5 separate regions of the Homo sapiens genome follow, and all the other regions are linked to region 1. The links are contacts of gene promoters, found by promoter capture Hi-C in blood cells and fetal thymus (Javierre and others, 2016). All regions are on one chromosome and are shown on one strand. Each heading gives the region's core, a stretch centred on a gene start or on the middle of the fragment in contact. The rest is flanking DNA. Distances are from core to core; before and after follow the strand shown. Region 1 holds the start of ACTR3 (actin related protein 3). Region 2 overlaps INSIG2 (insulin induced gene 2). Region 3 overlaps LOC102723413 (a long non-coding RNA gene). Region 4 has its middle 4.1 kb from the start of CCDC93. Region 5 overlaps DDX18 (DEAD-box helicase 18).

The links. Contacts are between HindIII fragments. The CHiCAGO score rates a contact against its expected background, and 5 or more counts as called.
Region 2: a contact is called between a fragment that was not itself captured here and the fragment with the promoter of ACTR3 in region 1, in 1 of 17 cell types (M0 macrophages). The highest score is 5.0, in M0 macrophages.
Region 3: a fragment that was not itself captured here is called in contact with the fragment with the promoter of ACTR3 in region 1 in 1 of 17 cell types (M0 macrophages); the score reaches 5.1 in M0 macrophages.
Region 4: a contact is called between a fragment that was not itself captured here and the fragment with the promoter of ACTR3 in region 1, in 1 of 17 cell types (fetal thymus). The highest score is 5.1, in fetal thymus.
Region 5: a fragment that was not itself captured here is called in contact with the fragment with the promoter of ACTR3 in region 1 in 2 of 17 cell types (fetal thymus and naive CD8 T cells); the score reaches 8.6 in fetal thymus.

The regions. Positions count from the first base shown.
Region 1 is chr2:113,888,761-113,891,379 of GRCh38, forward strand. It overlaps ACTR3 (actin related protein 3), which reads left to right and starts at 1,329. Exons shown (of 12, transcript NM_005721.5): 1 at 1,329-1,563. The coding sequence starts at 1,520. It overlaps ACTR3-AS1 (ACTR3 antisense RNA 1), which reads right to left and starts at 2,232. Exons shown (of 5, transcript NR_110174.1): 1 at 2,133-2,232. It overlaps LOC124906071 (a long non-coding RNA gene), which reads right to left and starts at 1,007. Exons shown (of 3, transcript XR_007087205.1): 1 at 1-1,007. RefSeq lists enhancers at 700-1,009, 1,130-1,219, 1,252-1,907, 1,990-2,039, 2,090-2,269 and silencers at 1,300-1,359, 1,600-1,859. The HindIII fragment of the contact is 5,488 bases long and covers 1-2,619 here.
Region 2 is chr2:118,096,517-118,099,135 of GRCh38, forward strand. INSIG2 (insulin induced gene 2) reads left to right here. Exons shown (of 6, transcript NM_016133.4): 2 at 1-284. The coding sequence starts at 41. Among named protein-coding and RNA genes, the nearest start is that of INSIG2, 9.4 kb to the left of the region's middle. The HindIII fragment of the contact is 829 bases long and covers 884-1,712 here.
Region 3 is chr2:118,052,498-118,055,116 of GRCh38, forward strand. The region is part of intron 2 of LOC102723413 (a long non-coding RNA gene); the gene reads left to right. Among named protein-coding and RNA genes, the nearest start is that of INSIG2, 35 kb to the right of the region's middle. The HindIII fragment of the contact is 1,569 bases long and covers 522-2,090 here.
Region 4 is chr2:118,016,892-118,019,510 of GRCh38, forward strand. No RefSeq gene overlaps it. Among named protein-coding and RNA genes, the nearest start is that of CCDC93, 4.1 kb to the left of the region's middle. The HindIII fragment of the contact is 920 bases long and covers 874-1,793 here.
Region 5 is chr2:117,819,940-117,822,558 of GRCh38, forward strand. DDX18 (DEAD-box helicase 18) reads left to right here. Exons shown (of 14, transcript NM_006773.4): 4 at 1,222-1,357; 5 at 1,711-1,811; 6 at 1,923-2,122; 7 at 2,208-2,322. Among named protein-coding and RNA genes, the nearest start is that of DDX18, 6.6 kb to the left of the region's middle. RefSeq lists silencers at 645-694, 705-774. The HindIII fragment of the contact is 245 bases long and covers 1,129-1,373 here.

The sequences.
Region 1 (2,619 bases), core at 79-2,578:
CTTAATACATTAGATGATCTTATGGACTGAATAAGACATCCCTCCTTTTAAAGAATATTTTTGTTTTAGCTTCACATCAGCAAACCCCGAACGGTTCATCCTAAGATAAGCCTGGTAGAGAGGAAAGATACTAACCTTCTAGGGTCCTAAAGTGGAACTAGGAACTTATTAGATATGCACATTCTCAGGCATTATTTCCGATAGCCCAGTCAGAGAATTCTGGGGGTATGGCCCAGCAATCTGTTTTAACAAACCTTTCAGGTAATTCTGATACACACTAAAGTTTGAAAGGTTTCTTTAAGGCTTTCCAGTTTTCTTTTCTTTTTTGGAGGGATGGGGGGGGGTCTCCCCATGTTGCCCAGGCTGGTCTCGAACTCCTAGCCTCAAGCTATCCTATCCTCCCACCTCGGCCTTCCAAAGCATTGAAATTACAGGCATGACCCACTGCGGCTCGCCTCCGTTTCTAACTTAAAAAAATTTTCTTTGGAGGGGAGCCTTAATCCTTTCTATTATCCTGCTAGTAGAATCTTACTACTCCTGAGGGTAATCTTTGTCATAATCCAAAAGCCTTGAATAAAGGCCTATTTGTATAGTTATGCAGAATATATTCCTGGGAGGTTTGCCTTCCTAGGAGCACAGGTCGGCCCTGGGAGGTGGGGGTTGGGGGGCAGGGCTGCATTCTAAAGTCCTGTAACAACGCACAAGTACAACTGAATAGAACTCGGAACAAAGGCATCAGGGCCACGGTGCAAGTCTTTGTTCATCCGTTCCCCGACTGCTCACCCTGTCTGATACCGCTCTTTTCCACCCAGAAAAGCAGCCACTCAAGTTTTAAGAATGGATGTATGCCGCGGACGTTTTCGATTAGGCCGTTTTCTCTCAGGCACTGGAGGATATTCGTGGCTGCAGGAGGCGCTTCCACCCTTTCCTCAACCTAGCAAAGAAGTAACTGAAACTAACCCAAGGGTTACAACCGAAAAGCCCCTTCCAGCTTCAGAAGCAGAACTGGAAGCTCGGATAGACTTCTCCGCCTCTACACTCCTGGAAAACCCGCAGTGGATTTCACCAACTTCAGGATCGGAGCCCAGGCAGGCGAACGTACCTTATTGCGCATGCTCGCTAGCCCCTCCCGCTCGGAGCGGAAGGGGGAGCGCTGGGGGCCTGGGCCTGGCCTGGCCGGGGCGTCGGCACCGGCGGCCATCTTGGCTTCCCGGGGAAAGGCGGCGTGAGGGGAAGAAGTTGTAGGGTGGGGGCAGGAGTGAGGAGGAGGGAAGAGAGAGGGGGAGGAGGCCGCGGCGGGGCAGGGCGGGGACTGCCTGCCTGCCTGGGTTGCGGAAGTGATAGCCGCCGACCGAGCCTGCTGCTTTCTTGCTACTGCTTCGGCTTCCCGGCTACCCCCCGGACGGTGAAGGCGGCCCAGCTGTGGATGGTCAGATAGCCCTTGTCTCCCGCCGCCAATCTCTGGCCCCTAGCAGCACGGAGCAGACGGCGGCAGCAGCAGCAGCAGGCGAGGAGGAAGATGGCGGGACGGCTGCCGGCCTGTGTGGTGGACTGTGGCACGGGGTAAGGGGGCTTACGGGCGGGGGTGGGGAAACTGAGGCGGAGGAAGGAAGATGGCGGGGGAGGGAGGAGGCCGGGAAATGAATGGTGCGGCGAGGTGCCGCCGCCGGCTGTCAGTCCTAGACCCGCCGGCCAGCGAGGGGTGGGGCCCGCAGCCAGGGCCTCGCGGGTCCCCTCGTTTCTCCCTCCTGGGACTGGGGCGGGGGCGCGGGCCCGAGATTCAACCCCCAACCCTCCCAGCGGCTTTCTCCGCGCGACCCCTCCCGGCCCTTCCCCCACTACGGTGGGCAGCGCCGCCCAAAGGGCGCTGGGGACGGTCGTCTTGGGGGTGGTCCCCGGGCCCGACCCATCCGGCTTTCCTTTCCCTCCGCGCCCGTTTTTGCCAGTCGGTTTGGGGACCCAGGGGCCGAGCTCGGGGACTGGCCTGGCAGGGGAGCTAGAAAAGAGAAGCGCTCCTGGTAGGTTTGACAAGATCGCTGTGACAACATTCTGCCCAGGGTGTGGGTGGGGAAAGGGAAGAATCGGACTCTGAAAATGGGAACCTACAGTGGGGCTTTCATTTGACCACCCACCTTCTCCTTTCGACTCCTGGTCATTTCCATCTCCCTCTGCGTTTTAACCGGTGAACCAAGTCACATTTTAATTCGAGGGAGAAAGATGTCATGTGTTACTTCTGTAGCCTCAAAAAAGTCCCCCAGTGAGCAAGCGCGCTGCAACTTCCTTAGTTTTGTCAAAGCCGCTTCCTGCTTTCAGTCTTTTATACCCTTATAAGGTAGTTTTTAGTTTCCAACCTGAGCACATCTTACTAGAACTTTTAAGCAGGTTTTAAAGAGACTGAATTACCGGTGCTTGGTGTCCATTTATATGACTTAAAAAAATGTACTTATGTTTCATGGAGTGGGGGAAAGGAAGCACCCTGGAAAATAAACTAATTTAAGTTGTATTCGTTCATTCTGTGATGGTATCTTGAAGGAAGCAGGAAGGTATAGAGGTATATAGGAGGGTGTTTAAGTTGCAAATAGTTACTCGTAGATATGTAGGGTAGTTTGCGAAAATGTA
Region 2 (2,619 bases), core at 48-2,547, 4.2 Mb after region 1:
CATTTTTTTTTTTTTAACGGCTTTCTGAACCTATGAAACCATGGCAGAAGGAGAGACAGAGTCACCTGGGCCCAAAAAGTGTGGCCCATATATTTCATCTGTCACTAGCCAGAGTGTGAACTTGATGATTCGAGGAGTAGTGCTATTTTTTATTGGAGTATTTCTTGCATTAGTGTTAAATTTACTTCAGATTCAGAGAAATGTGACGCTCTTTCCACCTGATGTGATTGCAAGCATCTTTTCTTCTGCATGGTGGGTACCCCCATGCTGTGGCACGGCTTCAGGTATGTGTAGGATGTTTCTGTAATGCTTAGAAAGGAAATAGGGTAAATGAGTATGGACGTTGTCTGAGCAATAAACCTTTTTAAAAAAGAAAATATATTTATTGAGATATAATTTAGGTATAATACACTGGACCCGTTTGAATTGAACAACTTGATGTGTTTAGGCAAATGCGTACAGTCACATGACCACTGCCAATCCAGCTGTGGAACATTTCCATCACCCTCCAGAGTCTCTCGTGTCCTCTTGCAGTCCATTCCCCACCCCCAGCCTCAGGCTACCACTGATCTGCTTTCTGTTGCCATAAATTATTTATCTCTGTTCTAGAATGCAATATAAATGGGCTCATAACGTATGTACTCCCTTCTGTCTCATTCTATCTGTCCTGTAAACTTTTAACATTTAATTCTGAAAAACAATCCTGTTTCCCTTAGGGATGAAGCATTTAACCCCTTAATTTTGTTCTTTCTTCAACCCATCTCATCTAAGTGTTATTTTAAGTTATTTGGATGATGAGCACCACCATTTGGTTTTAAGGGTTTGATGCATGTGCTGTAGTCTTGTTTCTGAAGTAATAAAAACTTGAATAATTAAAGTTTAAAGCTTCATGTTGTATTTTTGTAAATGCTTTTTTCCTTGGTATCTTGTTTTTATAAGTACCTTAGAATAATAAATATTTAAAGACATCTATAAGGTAGACTCTCTTTGCTTAAAATTAGTATCCTATTAGTTACTTTAGATATTTTTTTGGTGGTGGGCAGTGTGTAATGCATAGAGTAGAGCATTTCACAATACTTTATTGCTGCCATACTTCCACAATGGATAGCACTTTAGTGTTTTCTAATGACCAAGACCAATAGATTAATACTGTTTTTAATAATAAAGTAATAAAAGGAAACCATAATCATGTGGTAGAAGATAATTCTGATTGAAGGAGAAAATTGCTTTTTAAATACCCATTTGGTGTCTCATACTTAACATATATGAATGAATATCTTGCAACATAATATATGTCCTTCTTGGCTTCCATCCAAGAGCGGGAGGTTGAAGGATGAGGTTGCGCTTTACGGAAGTGTTAGAATGGCCTTGTGAAACTTGCTGGACAATTATAGAATCCTGTTGCACAGTTAGAGGGGCACTGTTGTAGTAAGGCTTCAGTGTTTATATACTGATGTCTCACTATTACATCGTTCACATTAAAAGTGAAGTCATGAAGGCAGTGATTCTTAGTTTCCCAGGGTTATCATTCTCCAAGAGAAAAGGCAAAAAATAGTCCAAATAAAAAACAAATTAAATTGTATCACTCTGCTGTATGTACTGGTCCTCATGCATTTTTCTTTCATTTAAATTCAGAAGAGAAAACGTTTTCTCAACAACTTTTCTAGTTCTTTGTTTCTTTTCTTCTATAGTATAGTCTGGCTGCCAGTAGAAGCTTTTTGGGACATGGAAGAGCATACATGTCTTTTCAGGATAGAACAGAGGGAAGGGAAACTGTTGTTTATTGAATGTCTGCTAATGTGCTAGGTACATCCTGTAATCCCAGGGTTCTGTAGAGCAACTTTGGGAGAGAGATGTTTGGCATTGTGCCTGTTATGGGGAGATGAGGACACTCACTGAGATGAAGAAAGAAAACCAGTGAGCCCAGGGTCCCAGAGCCAGTGAGTGGTGTGACTGGGTCCACATGTCACATGCTGGGGAAGGGAAAAGGAAGCTACTCACACTTTTCCCCCTACTCAGGATGCCACTTTTCAAGCCTCCAGACTGGGTGCCAGACCTAGATGGAATTCCCTGGCGTGTGTTGTGCATTTGGGCTGGGGCAGGAGAACTTAACTGAGGTTTCATTGTACCTCCACTATGAAGAGTAACAGGGCTGCACCTGCTGTCTTGTCCTTCTGCCCCTTTAATGTCAGCACTTTTGCCATAAACTTACATTTTAGGAAGGAAAATTTCAAATGCTAATACCACAGTTCAGCCACTACTTTCCTTCCTGTTCCCAGCCACTAGGTTTGTCACACTTACAAACTTAACCTCATTTGGGGAATTTGCATTTACATTTCTTGCTTAAGTATTTCTTCTGAAAGCAGTTTGTACCATAAGGTACTTGGGCAAAAGAAAGTAGAGAGACATTAGGAAATCTAGATTCCAGCCAATTCTGCTACCAATTTTGTTAGTTAAGTCATGGTGTTTAGTAGATGAGAGTGAAAGATATCAGATTTGTCCAAGTTGCCAGAGATGGAAAATGGATTCTCTCAAAATCTCTGCTCTGCCATCCCCTGCATCATTATTTTAGGGAAAGTATCATGGGAAAAGAAGTAAATGATTTAAGAAACATAGTGT
Region 3 (2,619 bases), core at 56-2,555, 4.2 Mb after region 1:
TTCCACATTCTGGAGTTGTTCCTTGGTCGTCTTGTTTTCAAGGATTTTGTATTGTAACTTTGTGACTTCCTACCCCTTTTCATTTAAAGATTTCTGCCTACACCAGGCCAGACATCAAGGGAAAACAATTATCACAAAGGTAAGTCTATAAAGGAAACCATTTTAAATAAGCCAAGTCAGCAAGTCTTTTCTTCCTTTTTAAAATCTCAAATATGTAGCTAATCTTTAGGAAAATAAAGAACATCACATTCTACTGCATAAACAGCCCCATCTAATCTATCAATCAAATATGATTGATCAGACACAGTGATTACTTGGATAATTAGTACAGGGTTTAGGTTTATGCAGTACTCTGAAGCCTTTGGGATGTCTGCATAATTACCATTTGTACAGTAGATCGAGTTATAGGAATTCTGCTAGTCGATTATAAACATGAAGCACTTAGAATAGACAACTCGAACTAGCACAAGTTTCTTAATTCATTGCATTTGATACAAATGCAATAGCTTGTCATGAGGCAAAGCTTTATTTGGCCAAAAGCTCTGAAGTTAGCATATATACATTTAAAAAACAACCTATCTCTTCTTGTATCTAGTGTCTTCCACCAGATTTGCAAGGCAGGAGAGAGGTAATTTCACAAGGGGACTGTGGCATCCAAAGCACAGCAACTTGAGTTGAGCCACTTCAATATTCTCCCATAAATTCCCTGGGACAACTTTAAAAAGAGTCGACTTTACATCTTCTGTCTACAATCATCTATTTTCACATCAAGATGAACAACATTATCCTCATCTGCGGGAGGATCTGAGACTAGCGCCTCGACACGAGGCTTTCTACTTAATGTTGTAATGACAGGTGTAAGATTAACTTTGTTAGGTGTCTAGCCACTCATGCAAACTAAATTAAATTAATGGAACAAATTTCTCTCATAATTAAGATAAAAATTCATGTCAGCTGTAACCTTGCTGTACACTAATTATATACAAATGATTTATCATCTGCTTCGCCCAGAATATTAATCCTTACCTCATTGATAACTGCAGCCAGTGTTAAGAGATGAGAGTTGATTAACTATGACAGATTGGGCAACCACAGCCCTCGGTGCCGGCGCTACCAGTGAAACCAATAACACTCAAGTAGCTCTCTGTGTTTAAAATGCATTCCCATGGAAACAGATGCATGCTTAATGAAGGATACTGAGATTATTTTCAATAATGACTGATATTGGAACAGTGGGCAGAGCTGATCAATAACAATTAACCACTTAGTCTGCTAAAGACATGGTTAGAGAAAGCAGGTTATTTCCACATTAGCAGAACCTTATTCGAAGCCGAGTGCTCCATAATGTCTCTATGCTGCACCGTTTCCCTTTTTCCCTGCCTGGGAGGGGCTCCATGGTGGAGAGATGGTATTGTGCCAAGCGCCCTCCTGTCGCCTCTTAGCGCCTGCTTATGAAATGAGTGATTGATGTTGCCAGCGGTTCTTTGGATGCTCTCAAGATAGCTGCCAAATGTATCAAGGAAAGTCCAAAAGCAACTGTGACCATGAAACTAATATTGCTTTGTATGGATTTGGTTTGGTAGAAAACTTTACTGCCAAGGCGTAACTCAATTGTACAGAAATTTCTTTTGATCTTTCATTGTATGCTTTTTAATTTAATTTTAAAGAATCCAAGACGAGTCGTGTAGATATTTAAGGAAATCCTTTGCTTTGGACTCCTGTCATACTGGCTGGAAAGGGCTTTAATAACATAAATTTAATAATAGATATGGCTTTCAACACTATTTGGAAATTTGCACTTTTATTTTGTATTAATTTGAATCACCCCAGGAGTCAAGATCTTGCAATGCTAATTACTAATATAGACTCCCAGAATCCCTACCCTGACAGTCAGCTTGGAGAAATCCCAACTCCCTGGGCCAAAAAGTGTTAATAAAAAGTGATTAGCTACTTAGGCCAAGGCATATTATAATAATGCATTATATTTCCCTTGAATGGATGATATGCATTCTCATTTCTCTGAATGAAGAAAATGGTTGAGGGAGATGAAAATTCAGTCACTTCGACTGACATTATTACTGAAAGAATCAAGCTTTTAAAACAAATAGAAGAATGCTGCTTTCTCTGCACTTCTTAGATTTAAGACTCCAATCTGAAAATGCAAATAAACAGAAATATACTCTATTTACCAGTCTAGTTCATCTGTTTGTTCTATTTTGCAGACCTACGTGTGAACTAATGCAAGCAGCTAATGCCAAGCCTAACATGCTCCATATGTGTTAGAAGTTTTAAGGTGAAGAAAAGAACTGGCCTTTTTCTTCCTTTAGCCCTGTGAGACAGACATTCTGCACTTAAATTATCAGCCACAGGGCATCCGTGGCTGGGAATCCAAACAGATGCTAATGAATTTGGAACAACATTTAAGTGGCTGAACAAAAATGGATCCTAAACACCCCCAAATCAAGTGCAACAAACAAGAAATAGGCTGACACATTTCTATCAGGAAGGCAACCAGAATGTCAAACTCTTGAATGATACTGGGTGATCTCAGCTCTGTTTTATCATCTCAGTAAATAAATCTAGAGATGATAAACAACCATAAATACCTGCAACAAATGC
Region 4 (2,619 bases), core at 84-2,583, 4.1 Mb after region 1:
GTACACTGAGTACAGAGTTGTGTGATGTTCCTCTTTGGAGCCTCACAAATACTTTCCAGTTCGTGGGTAAAGAGGTACCATAGTGATATAGTTTGGATATTTGTCCCACCCAGATCTCATGTCAAAATGTAATAGCCAGTGTTGGAGGTGGGGCCTGGTGGGAGGTGATTGGCTCGTTGGGGTGGATTTTTTGTGAATGGTTTAGCAACATCCTCTTGGTGCTGTCTTCCTGACACTGAGTCACTCATCACGAGATCTGGCTGTTTAAAAGTGTGGCACTTATCCTCTCTAGCTCTTGCTTTCACCATGTGACATGCCTGCTCTCCTTTCACCTTCCACCATGATTGTAATCTTCCTAAAGCCTCCCCAGAAGCCAAGCAGATGCCGGCGCCATGCTTTCTGTAAAGCCTGTAGAACTGTGAGTTAATTAAACCTCTTCTTTATAAATTACCCAGTCTCAGGTATTTCTTTATAGCAATGGGAGAATGGCCTAATACACATAGTAAAGAGCTTCCTGTTAGGCTTAGCTTTGTTCTGGAGGAAGTTTTCTTTCTTTTTTTTCTTTTTTTTTTTTTTTGAGACGGAGTCTCGCTCTGTCACCCAGGCTGGAGTGCAGTGGTGCGATCTCGGCTCACTGCAAGCTCCGCCTCCCGGGTTCACGCCATTCTCCTGCCTCAGCCTCCCGAGTAGCTGGGACTACAGGCGCCCGCCACCACGCCCGGCTAATTTTTTGTATTTCTACTAGAGGCGGGGTTTCACTGTGTTAGCCAGGATGGTCTCGATCTCCTGACCTCGTGATCCGCCCACCTCGGCCTTCCAAAGTGCTAGGATTCCAGGCGTGAGCCACCGCTCCCAGCCGGAAGTTTTCTATAAAGCTTTAATTATTCTGTCTTCAGGCTTCTCTCATTCCTTCTACATGTAGTGCAACAATGGGTGTTCAGTAAAGTAGAGTGACACAGCGAGGTCACACAGCACATTAGAGGGAGTGCTAGAACCAGAGCCCCAAATTTCTCATTCCCCATGTTCTTTTGCTCACCCATCCAACCATCCATCCATCCATCCATCCATCCAACAAATATTGCTGAGTTTCTTCTATGTCAGTAGCTCTCAAACTTGGCTGCACATTGGAATCACCTGGATTCCACCCTTAGCAATCCTGATTTAATTGGGCTAGGGAGAGGCATGAATATTGAATTTTTTGCCTTGGAACATATTGTTTTATATACAACACAGTAGTGAATAGTGACTTCATTATGGATTTGTTTCTTTATAGATCACAGTGGCATATAAAATTCAAAATCCATAAACAAAGAGCTCTTAGGTTAAATGAGTTCTTCCTAAAAATTCTTAATGGCATGCTGGTCTATTCTCAAGCGGTACAATTTTATAATGCACCATCCTATATTTAGCATGTCACATTTCTACAGTAACATAATGGAGGCACAGGCAGTGCAAGCAGATTTAAACCCCTTCTACTTCTGGACTGAAGGTTAGAAAAACACAGCGTGTACACACACACACTTGGATGAGTTCTTCCAATACGTTTTCCCCCAAAAATGATAGTTTTATCAAAGAATTTCAATAACTTTCATAGTTTGTACAACCACACTCTATTAGCTACATTAAAAAGGATTCAACAAGGGGCCAACTACACAGTAGTAAATAAACATGTTTGAGAATATCTGCTACATTCTCTATCTCCTGGAGAAAATAATATTTACATTTTTTTGTAAAGTGATTTAATAACTAAACAATTCTTTCTTTTGGTCGGGGGTAGGTAATGGGATTTTCAAAGCTTCACAGGTGATTCCAATAAGCAGTCAATTTGAGAAGAGTTTCTCTGTGCCAGAAACTGTTCCTGATGCTGCAGATACTGCAGTCAACACACCAAACAAGATAATTACTGACAGAAATTAAACATGTAATTAATAAGATAATATCAGGTAGAAATAGGTGCTATTAAAGGGGGGAAAAACAGTGTAGTTTGGGTGTGGTGGCTCACACCTGTAATCCCAGCACTTTGGGAGGCTGAGGCAGGCAGATTGCTTGAGCCCAGGAGTTCAAGACCAGCCTGGGAAACATGGCAAAAACCTGTCTCTACAATTAACAACAACAACAACAAAAAAAACAAAAACCAAAAAACAAGCAATGACAACTACAACAACAACAATTAAAAAAAACCAGTGTAATGCAATAAAGAATAGCTAGAGTCAGAGTCACTTTTAGATGAAGGGGCCAGGATTAGGCTTTGCAGTGCCATTTGAGAGAGACCTAAATCCCAAAAGGACACCATAGAAGGGCCTCAGGGGAAAGCATTGCTGGCAGAAGGAGCATCTGAGGTGTTCTGGACAGTTTCCCATTACCCTTCCAGTCCTGCTCTCAGTCCTCTCCTTGTTTGTTTCAGCACAAGGCTGACCAGTAAGGACTTCAGCAGCAGGGCCTGGGGTATGAGGATCTGGGATGTGGGTCTTGGGATGAAGGGGTGTCTGGGATGTGAGTCCTGGGGTTTGGGGGAACTGAGTTATAGGGACTAGGAAGTAAGATTTCAATAGTAATTTGACAAAATATATTAAGAACTTAAAAATTTTCTTTGATATGATACTTCCACTTTCAGGGCTT
Region 5 (2,619 bases), core at 1-2,500, 3.9 Mb after region 1:
TTTTCTCTTTATCTTCTATTTTGTGGTGTTTTAGTTCTTTTTGTTCCCTGTTTTTTTCCTTTTGTTCATTCCTGACACCAAATATTTTATATGCACACTAGCAGCTTCTAGGATTCCTTGGTTTGTCCTTTTCTGAGTCTCATTCTATGTTGTAATAGGAAAATGATTGGCCCTGTACGAGGTTAACCTCCTTTGGCCTTTGTTCCTTTATAAAGTTGAGTTTAGGCTAGAATTCACTGCTCCTAACCAGATATGTCTAGGAGTTACTTGAGTTGTTTATTTGGTTTGGGTTGGTTGGTTTGTTAAAATGTTGAGGCCCAACCCTAGACCTGCTTAATCCAAATTGCAAACGTTTTGGTAGTAGCTCTCGAGCAGGGAAATTCGCCCCCCGAGTAAGAAGAGTAACTCTTCCTGGTTTGCCCAGAACTTTAACAGTTTTAGCACTGAAAGTTCTGAATCCCAAGAATCTCCTCTGTCCCTAGCCTACTGAGAAGATTGGTCATCCTAAGCCTAGGAGACATTTTTGGTTCTCAGAGCTAGGAGCAGTCTGCTGGGATCTGGTGAGTAGAGGTCAGAAACACTGCATAATATCTTATAAGGCACAGGATAGTGTTTCACAGCAAAGAATTATTCAGCCCAGATGTCAGCAATGCCAAGGTCAAGAGTGATTGGTTTACACCCTGGGCATGTGGAGTATGGGGAACCCCCAGGTGATTTTGATGCCTTCTGCTGAACCACCACTGTATTACTTGATACGTAGGCTCAGCCTAACATTCTGTGGCTGTATCTGACTCTTCTGTGTCTTGTTGGAGTGAGATTAACAGGTTTTTTTTTTATTATTGACTTCACACTCAGTTTTTATTAATGCTCAATGTTTTCACTTTTATATCAGATTTCTTAAACATTTCATTTATCTCTGGACTCTCATTATTTTCCTTGTTTTGGTATTTTTATTTTATATAAATTCCTTGGTTATACCTCCTCTCTACCCCTTGTTTTGTTATAGTATGGTCTCTGGACTATAACTCACACAGCCGTTAACAGTGGAGAAACTTGAAAGATATAGGGTCTTTTTCTTGATATTATCACATATGAATAATTAAGGTTTAGCCTTTTCTTACTGCGGGAAGCTTTTCTAAGCAAAATAGATTTAGGCAACTGTAGCAATACTTTTTTAAAAAAAAAGATAAATTTGCTAATGATAAATTGTCTTCTGTTTAGGAGCTTTTGAGGATACTTCGTTTGCTTCTCTATGTAATCTTGTCAATGAAAACACTCTGAAGGCAATAAAAGAAATGGGTTTTACAAACATGACTGAAATTCAGCATAAAAGTATCAGACCACTTCTGGAAGGCAGGTATGATTAACATTGAAGCTTAGATATTGGCATCTATTTTTAGAACTAGTAGATGATAAAGAACATACCAGTATATTCTGTTGATTTTGTACTATATGTTGGGTCATGTATCCAGCATACATTAAAGGCTTTAAGTTAATTACTGATGTTTGAAGGAAAGTGTTCGAAAGGTGTTCTGCTTCTGTTGTAGCACAGTTCTGACTTATGATTTCAGTATATAACCCAGGTGATCAATTTCAGCACTGTAGACGTTTCTTGTTCATGTTCTAGCCGTAGTGCCTAAGGTGTGTGTATGTAGTACGTCGTAAATGAGTAGGCTAAATGTCTTTCTCCTTTCCCTTTTTAATATTTAGGGATCTTCTAGCAGCTGCAAAAACAGGCAGTGGTAAAACCCTGGCTTTTCTCATCCCTGCAGTTGAACTCATTGTTAAGTTAAGGTTCATGCCCAGGAATGGTAAGCGTTCATCTGCTTGTTTCTGCCATTATTTCACTAGAGGTTTATTGTAGCTGTTACGGACTCAGTGGTGACAGCCACATTTAGACTTCTACCATATATCATTTTTAGGAACAGGAGTCCTTATTCTCTCACCTACTAGAGAACTAGCCATGCAAACCTTTGGTGTTCTTAAGGAGCTGATGACTCACCACGTGCATACCTATGGCTTGATAATGGGTGGCAGTAACAGATCTGCTGAAGCACAGAAACTTGGTAATGGGATCAACATCATTGTGGCCACACCAGGCCGTCTGCTGGACCATATGCAGGTAAGAGATGTAGTGCTTGTCTCATTGTCTTGTATGAAACATAAACTGACAACTAATGGTTGTTCTTTGTCCTTTGTTTTGTTAGAATACCCCAGGATTTATGTATAAAAACCTGCAGTGTCTGGTTATTGATGAAGCTGATCGTATCTTGGATGTGGGGTTTGAAGAGGAATTAAAGCAAATTATTAAACTTTTGCCAAGTAAGTAGGTAGCATCTGCATTTGGTTTGCAAAGTATCTGTTGGAGGTAGATAAGAGTTGTTCCTATAGAAAAACTGTACTAATGCCAGAACTTTACCATAGCCAAGTGAGGTAGTTGTGCCAATTAACCCGAAAGGTAATTTGGAATACAAGCATCAAATGTATTATAACTTGATATAATAGTTTTGCTGTTTTAGAAGTTATAAGGCACGTTAAGCAGTCTTCACATAGGTCCTGTCCTCCACCTCTTGCCCATTCTTACCTCATCTAACATCCCCCAAGAAGCCGCAGATTTTT